2 separate regions of the Homo sapiens genome follow, and region 1 is linked to region 2. The links are contacts of gene promoters, found by promoter capture Hi-C in blood cells and fetal thymus (Javierre and others, 2016). All regions are on one chromosome and are shown on one strand. Each heading gives the region's core, a stretch centred on a gene start or on the middle of the fragment in contact. The rest is flanking DNA. Distances are from core to core; before and after follow the strand shown. Region 1 has its middle 20 kb from the start of STAC2. Region 2 holds the start of FBXO47 (F-box protein 47).

What was found. Contacts are between HindIII fragments. The CHiCAGO score rates a contact against its expected background, and 5 or more counts as called.
Region 1: a fragment that was not itself captured here is called in contact with the fragment with the promoter of FBXO47 in region 2 in 2 of 17 cell types (activated CD4 T cells and naive B cells); the score reaches 6.1 in activated CD4 T cells.

What each region holds. Positions count from the first base shown.
Region 1 is chr17:39,243,149-39,247,949 of GRCh38, forward strand. It overlaps the pseudogene LOC101929578. Among named protein-coding and RNA genes, the nearest start is that of STAC2, 20 kb to the left of the region's middle. RefSeq lists an enhancer at 1,206-1,780. The HindIII fragment of the contact is 2,096 bases long and covers 2,443-4,538 here.
Region 2 is chr17:38,964,965-38,969,163 of GRCh38, forward strand. FBXO47 (F-box protein 47) reads right to left here and starts at 2,439. Exons shown (of 11, transcript NM_001008777.3): 1 at 2,265-2,439. The HindIII fragment of the contact is 5,025 bases long and covers 1,829-4,199 here.

The DNA of each region.
Region 1 (4,801 bases), core at 2,241-4,740, 280 kb after region 2:
ATGTGGGTGGATCTGGAGTCGCCCTGTTTTCTCTGTTTCTTCTCCATCTCAGTTCACACCTCGGAAGAAAGGTGGAGAGAAAGGCATCCCTTTCCGCCTCCAGATCGACACCTTCAGGCCCAGTGACAAGGGGCTGCCGCTAGACCACCTGCACTCAGCTGGCTGCCTCATCAAGGTGTTTAAGGTACAGGCAGCAATGGGGCCCATTTTCCTCTCTCTCAGGGCTGTCACCTGGCCTCGCCGGCTGTGTGGGTTCTGGCCCCACGTTGCTGTGGATCCTCAGCCTGCTGTGCCCCATCTCTTGGACTGTTTCCTTTTCTGTACACAGAGGGATGGGGCTTGGTCTCTGTCTCACAGCCAATCCAACAGAGCCACTGAAGAGAGGCAGGCAGGTAAAGAAAGAGTCTTTGGGCCGGGCGCGGTGGCTCACGCCTGTAATCCCAGCACTTTGGGAGGCTGAGGTAGGTGGATCACAAGGTCAAGAGGTCGAGACAAGCCTGGCCAATAGGGTGAAACCCCATCTCTACTAAAAATACAAAAATTAGCCGGGCGTGGTGGCACGAGCCTGTAATCCCAGCTACTCGGGAGGCTGAGGCAGGAGAATCGCTTGAACTCAGGAGGCGGAGGTTGCGGTGAGCTGAGATCGCGCCACTGCACTCTAACCTGCACAACGGAGCGAGACTGCAGCTCAAAAAAAAAAAAAAAAAAAAAAAGAAAAGAAAGGAGCCTGAGGCTTTCCTCATCATCCTCCTGCAGCACAAAGGAGCGGAAACTGAAAATGGACCGTGAGAAGATGGAGAAACAGCCCCTGCATGAGAGGGACAAGTATCAGACCGCCTGCGAGAGCACTGTCTTCTTGGAGGTGTGTGTGTTGGGGCGAGAGCAGGAGGGGAGAGTTGGAGAAAAGATCCTCACGGTACAGATGGGGAAATGGAGGCCTCCAGGGCTCTGACTGCTGCAAGCCCATCACAGCCCCCTGGGGACTCCACCACTTCCTGCAAAGGACACTCTCTGCCCTGTCTGTGGTTGTTGAAGCTTCCAGGAGCTGACGCCCTCCAGGCTGCCTGTCCTACGCGGGCCATCGCCACCTCCTTCCTTGTGTGCTCCCTCTGCCTGGCCCCCTCCTCCTCCTGCTGCTCCTCCTGGCCAGCTCCTCCAAGGCCCTTCCTCACTGCCCCAGGCCCGCCGGGTGGTTAACTTCTTCCTTCCTGTGGAAACCCAGTCCACTTGTCAGGCCCCTGGTCAGCTCTTAATATACAGGTGGAGAGAAGGGAGCAATGACCAGCCTTGCTGTGTGTTTGCCTGCAGTGTTCGCCATGGCCGGAGTCCCCTGCAAGGCCCCGGCCACCTCTCAGCTCTCTGGCTCTGACCTCTCCCCACTCCTGCAGGCTCTTGTCCCCAGAAAGGTGAGGCAGGATGAGCACCTCCTGTCAGCCCTTTGGGGTGAGAGTGAAGAAAAGAGCTCCCAGCCCAGGCATGGAGCAAAGGGCAGGGCTGGGGATTGGTGGGGAATTTGTGGGGTGAGGACAGGAGCAAGCTCTGTGTCCCAGGGCAGGCCTGGAGGAAGGGTGTTGGTGGAGGGAGACTGGCTGTAATGCTCCGCAGAGTTCTTGAACCTTTGCTCCTCCTCATAGGCTCTGTTCCTCACCACCATTCGCTCTGGATACCTTGGGGTGTAGCCCAGTTGAGGTGAGCCTTCCCCTTCCCACTCTCCACTGTCCCAAAGCCTTCTCCGCAGCTTCATCTCAAGCTCCAGAATGGAGTGGCCCTGCCCCCTGGTGGCCAGATGTGATATGGCCATAGATTGTAACTTACCTGATAAGACTGGGCAGGAAGAGCCTCCCTTCTCAGACTTGGGACCTCCCAAGGGAGGGGCTGTTTCCCTTTCTTGTTCTGTCCCTGGGTCCTGGTATTACCTGGACCATCCATTTTATACCTCAGGATCTGAACCAAAAAGCCCCCATCTCAGAGACACAGCAATGGTTGCATCAGCACTGGTTCTCCAGCTACTGCCGGATGCTGGCCAACTTCACTGGTGAGGCTAGTGTCTGGCAGGAGCCAGACCTGTAGGGGACTGAGAGTGGGTGGGACACACAGGCAGGAAGCCTGTCTCTGTCCTGGCTTGTTGTGGGCCCTTCAACTAACATTTACTGGGGACTAAGAGTTGCCCAGCATTGTGCTAGGCTCTCGTCTCACGAATTATCCCATATAATTTATACACTATTCCTTGAGGACAGTGCCCAGAGAGGTTAAATAACTTGCCCAAGGACACACAGCTAACAAGTGGCAGAACTGGCATTTAAATCCAAGCCTGACTCCCATATCTGAGCACACTAGGGCTATTTGTAGACTAATAGACTGTGTCCCTTACTTCCCACCCTTGATCCCAGGCCTCTTTCCTCAGTCTGGCCCTGTCTGACTCTACAGGTCTGGATCTGCTGAAGCTTACATGCCAGGACCTTATCCAAATCTGCGGGGCTGCTGATGGGATCCGCCTTTTCAATACTCTTAGAGCCAGGTGCTGGACACTGCCAACCAGGGTCCCCTTCCCACTGTAGTGGCCCTTACTAACTTAGCTAGCAGGTATGTTTCATACAATTTTTTTTTTAATATGGAGTTTCACTCTTGTTGCCCAGGCTGGAATGCAATGGCGCAATCTTGGCTCACTGCAACCTCTGCCTCAGGTTCAAGTGATTATCCTGCCTCAGCCTCCTGAGTAGCTGGGATTACAGGCGTCTGCCACCATGCCTGGCCAATTTTTTTTTTTTTTTTTTTTTTGAGACGGAGTCTTTTGCCCAGGCCGGACTGCAGTGGCACTATCTCGGCTCACTGCAAGCTCCGCCTCCTGGGTTCACGCCATTTTCCTGCCTCAGCCTCCCGAGTAGCTGGGACTACAGGCGCCTGCCACCGCGCCCGTCTAATTTTTTGTATTTTTAGTAGAGACGGGGTTTCACCACGTTCGTCAGGCTGGTCTTGAACTCCTGACCTCAGGTGATCCACCTGCTTTGGCCTCCCAAAGTGCTGGGATTACAGGAGTGAGCCACTGCACCCGGCTCATACAATGTTTAAGCCAGAAGTCACCTTAAAGACCACTTAGTCCCACTCCCTCTTTTTACAGAAGAAACTCAGGCCCAAGAAGGACAGTGACCAGTCTGAGGTCACAACCCAAAGCTGGCAGGGCTGGGGTGAAAAGCTAGGCTCCTGTGACCTCCTTCTGTGGCCATCCCACCTGCCTCATTCCATTTCTGGGGATAGAGATGTCTGTGGGGTTTTTTCCTCCCCATTTTTTCTCCCCCTAGTGTCCAGCATTCGTTAAATACCTAAGAACTACTTAGTGACCTCCCTCCCTCGAGACCTGGGAGGAGGCTGGGATCTCTCCTAGGATGGGGGCTAGAAGTGGGAGCTGTTAGTTCAGGTATAAGACTGATACATAGACTGTTTTCCTGGCCCAGGCCCATCTGTCACCAACTGACTTTGTATGTGGCTCAGGAGACCTCTAGGCAAGGGAACGAGGTTCCTAAGAACCCTGACTCAGGTGAGGTTCTGGCCTCTCTCTCCAGAACATAGGAAATTCAGGTGTAGCTGCATGAAACCTCTCCCTAGAAGAGGAATGGTGATACCCCACCATTCCTGGGACCCAGGATGCCCTTCTTGGCATTTCCCTACCTTCCATGACCAGATTAGTCCCTCTCCTTCCAGAATGTCTCCTTGGGTTTATTCACCATGTTCTACTCCTCCACCCCACCTGATCGTCACTGCATTAGCATATGGGATTAGAACATCATCTTGTTATGTACTTGGGTCCCAGTCACTAATATGTGGGTGTCCTGTCTTTAAACTGGGGGTTCCCCTCAGACACCTCCCAAAAGATGAGGGATGAGAGGTGAAGTAGACTTTTTTCTTTTTTTTTTTTTTTTGAGACGGAGTCTCACTCTGTTGCCCAGGCTGGAGTGCAGTGGCGCGATCTCAGCTCACTGCAACTTCTGCCACCCAGGTTCAAGAGATTCTCCTGCCTCAGCCTCCCAAGTAGTTGGGATTACAGGAGCCTGCCACCATGCCCAGCTAATTTTTGTAGTTTTTAGTAGAGATGGGGTTTCACCATCTTGGCCAGGCTGGTCTTGAACTCCTGACCTCGTGATCCACCCCTCGGCCTCCCAAAGTGCTGGGATTACAGGCATGAGCCACCACACCCAGCCAACTTTTCCCTCTTTACTTCTCCTCCCCCCACCCCATAGCCATCTTCCTGGCACCCCTGGTTTCCTGTGGGCACATCTCTGGACTCCCTTCCCCTGCTGACCCCTGCCTCTGTGTTGCCCATGCCCCCAGACTTTTATCAAGAGATCTCTCTGGATGAACTCAGTGCTGTAGAGCTGATGGGGAAACTGGCTGAGCTCTGGCCATCCCAGCCAATCAGATCCATCACCTTTTCCACCAGGGCACCGGGGGCATCTTCATTCTCCTCAGTGACCAGATAAAGGGCAGCCATTTCCTGTCGCAAATCCCCACGGAGGCCTCGCTAACACTTCTGCCTCAGATTAAGCTTTCTTTTCCATGGCATGGCTTGTTCTCTTTGGCTCCAATAACAAAATTGCCTTTGTGCCCGCTTCACTCTTACAGGTGGTCCAGAATTTTAAGGACGAATCATACTTTGTGGCTGTGGTGAAAAAAGGGATTTTAGAGGCAGAGGAGTGTGCCTGGCTGGCCCTATAAAGGGGGATAAGAGTGTGCTGAGCATATATTCCGTCTCCTAAATGAGACTAAAAGGCTCTTTGGGGGCCAGGCGCAGTGGCTCATGCCTGTA
Region 2 (4,199 bases), core at 1,189-3,688:
GTGCCACCACTAGTAGCTGGGATTACAGGCGTGTGCTACCACACTCAGCTAATTTCTGTATTTTTAGTAGAGACGGGGTTTCACCATGTTGGTCAGGCTGGTCTGGAACTGCTGACCTCAGGTGAGCCACCAGCCTCAGCCTCCCAAAGTGCTGGGATTACAGGCGAAAGCCACCACGCCCGCCCATTACACTAAATAATTATTTAAACATGTGTACCACACAGCGACTTTGTGTCACTCTATTGTTCTAATTCAGAAAACAATGTCTTTTGTGTATACATATACATATACGCATAATTACAACTCCAATCGAAGGCTCCTTGTTTCTGAAGTAACAACTAAGACATTTTCATCAAAGATATATAATTGTATCTGGCCAAAATGCATTTTCTCCTTTCTACAAATTGCTAAAGTAACATTGTTACTTATACATCTTGAAATGTTACATATCAACTTACATCAATTTAAAATTGGTTACACATTTGAAAACATAACAAAGAAATTTAGTGTTTAGTGAAAAGTACACTCTGAACCTCCTTTGAAACCATACCACAGCGATTGGGGTCAGTATTCAGTGAACACTTAAATTAGGAGGTATTTTAAAATTATCATTAAAATTACACAAATAGGCCGGGCATGGTGACTCACGCCTTAATCCCAGCACTTTGGGAGGCTGAGGCCGGTGGATCACGAGGTCAGGAGATCGAGACCATCCTGGCTAACACGGTGAAACCCCTTCTCTACTAAAAAAAAAAAAAAAAAAAAAAAATTAGCCGGGCATGGTGGCACGCGACTGTAGTCCCAGCTACTCTGGAGGCTGAGGCAGGAGAATCGCTTGAACCCGGGAGGCGGAGGTTGCAGTGAGCCGAGATCACACCACTGCACTCCAGCCTGGGTGACAGAGCAAGAATCTGCCTCAAAAAAAAAAAAAAATAATTACACAAATAACAACTTTACACAATACAGCTAAACAAGAAGAAAAAAATTAAGTTCACTTATAAACACTTTGGTTTATATAATTTCAGACTTTTACATACATATATTTCTTTTTAACAAAAAAGAGGGATCACTATATATAATACTTTGTAATCTGCTTTTTTCAATGAATTCTCTTTCCATGCTAATAACCTTCTACAAGTAATCATATTTTAATGGCTATGTGTCATTCCACCAAGTAAAATAATCTTAATTTGTTTAATCCATAAGGCTGTTTGTAACCTTAACTTTTCACAGTAGGCGTTTTGTTTGTTTGTTTGCGATGGAGTTTCGCACAGTCTCCTGGGCTGGAGTGCAGTGGCGCGATCTCGGCTCACTGCAAGCTCCGCCTCCCGGGTTCAAGCGATTCTCCTGCCTCAGCCTCCCTAGTAGCTGGGATTACAGGTGCCCGCCCCCACGCCCAGCTAATTTCTGTATTTTTAGTAGAGACGGGGTTTCACCGTGTTAGCCAGCCTGGTCTCGATTTCCTGACCTCGTGATCCGCCTGCCCCGGCCTCCCAAAGTGCTGGGATTTACAGGCGTGAGCCACCGCACCCGGCCAACACAGTAGGTGTTTTAAAGCATTTTTATTACAATAGCATAAATCCGGCCTTGGCTTCTTCCTGTTTCTCTGAGAAATGTGGACAGTGGGGCTTGGGCCCGTGGGCTCTTCAAAGACTGTCAGTCACCAGGCGGGGACTTCACTGTGTCAACTGTGAACTACATACATGTTTAAAATAAATATAAACAAAAATTTAAAAATGATAAGCCCAAATTCTTCTAAAACTCAAGTCTCCACTTATAGTTCCTTATTTTCCTCACTCAGAGCTGGACGTTTCGTAGGGAAAAAGCAAGCTTTTGTGAAAATTCTAAAGGTATAATCCTAAATTATTTCTGGTTTCCGCTCACCCCTCTAGCGAATAAGAATCACAGCCCCAAATAATAATAATAAAATGATGTTTCATGCCCCCTGTTCTATCCCACTAATTTTGACCGCGCGTGAAAGGTTTTGAGGGTTCAATTGGATGAACCTCCCCGCCCCCCACACCTTTAAGATAAAAACTACATTCACAGGGATGTCTGTTTTAACATAAAACTCTTGTAAGGGCCCCACCCCATCTGTCGGGCAGCTGCCCCCAAACATCTCCAAAGCCGCAAACTAGGGAAGCCTAAAGGACAAACTGGTCAACAGGAGAATCAGACCACACGGGGTACATGTTTCGCTCCCTTCAGTCCATGAAAGATGAAATTATCGCAATAAAATACTGGGAAAAAAAACCCTCTTTTACCACAGATTTTGACAGTTTTTCCGGCTACAGAGTCACAGGAAAGTGGGAGTTAGTCGTTTTGCCCCACCATCCTCAAATTTCTTAGTGTTTAGAAAAGAAAATATCTCCTCAAGAGCTTCCCGCCAGGAGGCGAGAGGGTCACACTCCCGTAGGCTCCGGAGCTGCAGCCCTACCCACCAGGCGTCCCCGCGGCCTCTAGAATATTGTAGAATCTTCCCAAGAGCCCCCGCGGGAAGGAGGCCCGCCCCCTCATGAATAGCAAGCAGCCTCAGCTCTCGTAGTGCCCGCCTCCCTCATGAATATTGTAGATCTTCCCAGAAGCCCTAGCGGGAAGGAGGTTCCCCCCCGCCTCCCGCCTCCCCGCTTTATGAATAGCAAGAGAGCCAGCTCCCATGGTGCCCTCCGTCTCATGAATAACTAACAAGGGCGAGGTTCCTGGAGCCCAAACTCAGGCCTCAGCCACCCTTCGCTCCAAGCTGAAGACAAGAAGGGGCTGGAGCCGTTACGGTGTGGGGAAGGGGAGGGTGTAGCCCAAGATCCTGAACGTGGCGAGCCACGTCTCTGCTCCACTGCCTTTCCCTTCACCTAGTTTTGAGACAATTTTTGAGTTCCTCCCACCCCCACTGACTCCAGTAGGGCAAGTTACAAGGGGTTTCATCAAACCTTTTGGTGGAAAAAAACCTCCAGACATTCCTTTTTAAATTTGTCTTGCCGGTGCGGTGGCTCACGCCTGTAATCCCAACACTTTGGGAGGCCGAGGCGGGAGGCTCCCTTGAGTCCAGGAGTTTGAGACCAGCCTGGGCAACATAGGGAGACCCCCACCCCCAGCCATAACCCCGCTCCCGGTCTCTAAATAAACACATAAATAATAAATCTGTCTGGAATCAAAGGAAGATGTGTGTCTCCATCCTCTCAAGATGAAATCAAGACAAATCTTTCTAGCTAGGCCTTCCTGGCTAGAAGATTAAATTCTCATTCATTCATTTCTTCATTCATTCTGTAACTATTTATTGAAGCCTGCTCTGGGCCGGGCACAGGAGTAGGCCCTAAGGATGGAATAGAGAACAAGACAGATACGTTTCCTGCTTTAATGGAGTTTATTAGCCTAATGGGGAAGATAGAATGAACAGACAGAGCATCTACAGATGTTGAGAGCAGTTCCGGTGAGAGCAGCGTGACAGAGGAAATAAGACAGAATGATGGGGTGTGTGTGTGTTGGCGGAGAGCTACTTTAGATAGACTGATACTCAAGGTCCCTTTGATATGACGATTTGAGAACTGATGGAGGAGAAGGAGCCAGTCAGGAGAAGGGCTGAGGGAAGAGGGAATGGGGGAAAGATTCTACTTTTGTAGATCAATTCTACATTATACCCAACACAAAATATATAAGGAACTACATAAAGACTGAGTGGAAATTTAGGATTAGTTGGCATGCTGTTATTTTATATAGTCACATATATTCATCCATTTGGCTTTGTATCTTTTTTTTTCCTGACCTCAGGTGACCTGCGTACCTCAGCACTGCAAAGTGCTGGGATTACAGGTGTGAGCCACCACTCCTGGCCTTTTTTTTTTTTTTTTTTTTTTTTGAGACAGAGTCTTGCTCAGTCGCCCAGGCTGGAGTTCAGTGGCACGATCTCGGCTCACTGCAGCCTCTGCCTCCTGGGTTGAATTGATTATCTTGCTTCAGCCACCCAGTAGCTGGGACCACAGGTGGGCACCACCATTGTATTTTTAGCAGAGATGGGGTTTCGCTATGTTGCCCAGGCTGGTCTTAAACTCCGAGGCTCAAGCGATCTGCCTGCCTCCCAAAGTGTTGGGATTAAAGGTGTGAGCCACCGGGCCCAGCCCTGGCTTTGTATCCTTTTGCAGCCAATTCTTTTTTTTTTTTTTTTTTTTTTGAGATGAAGTCTGCCTCTGTTTCCCGGGCTGGAG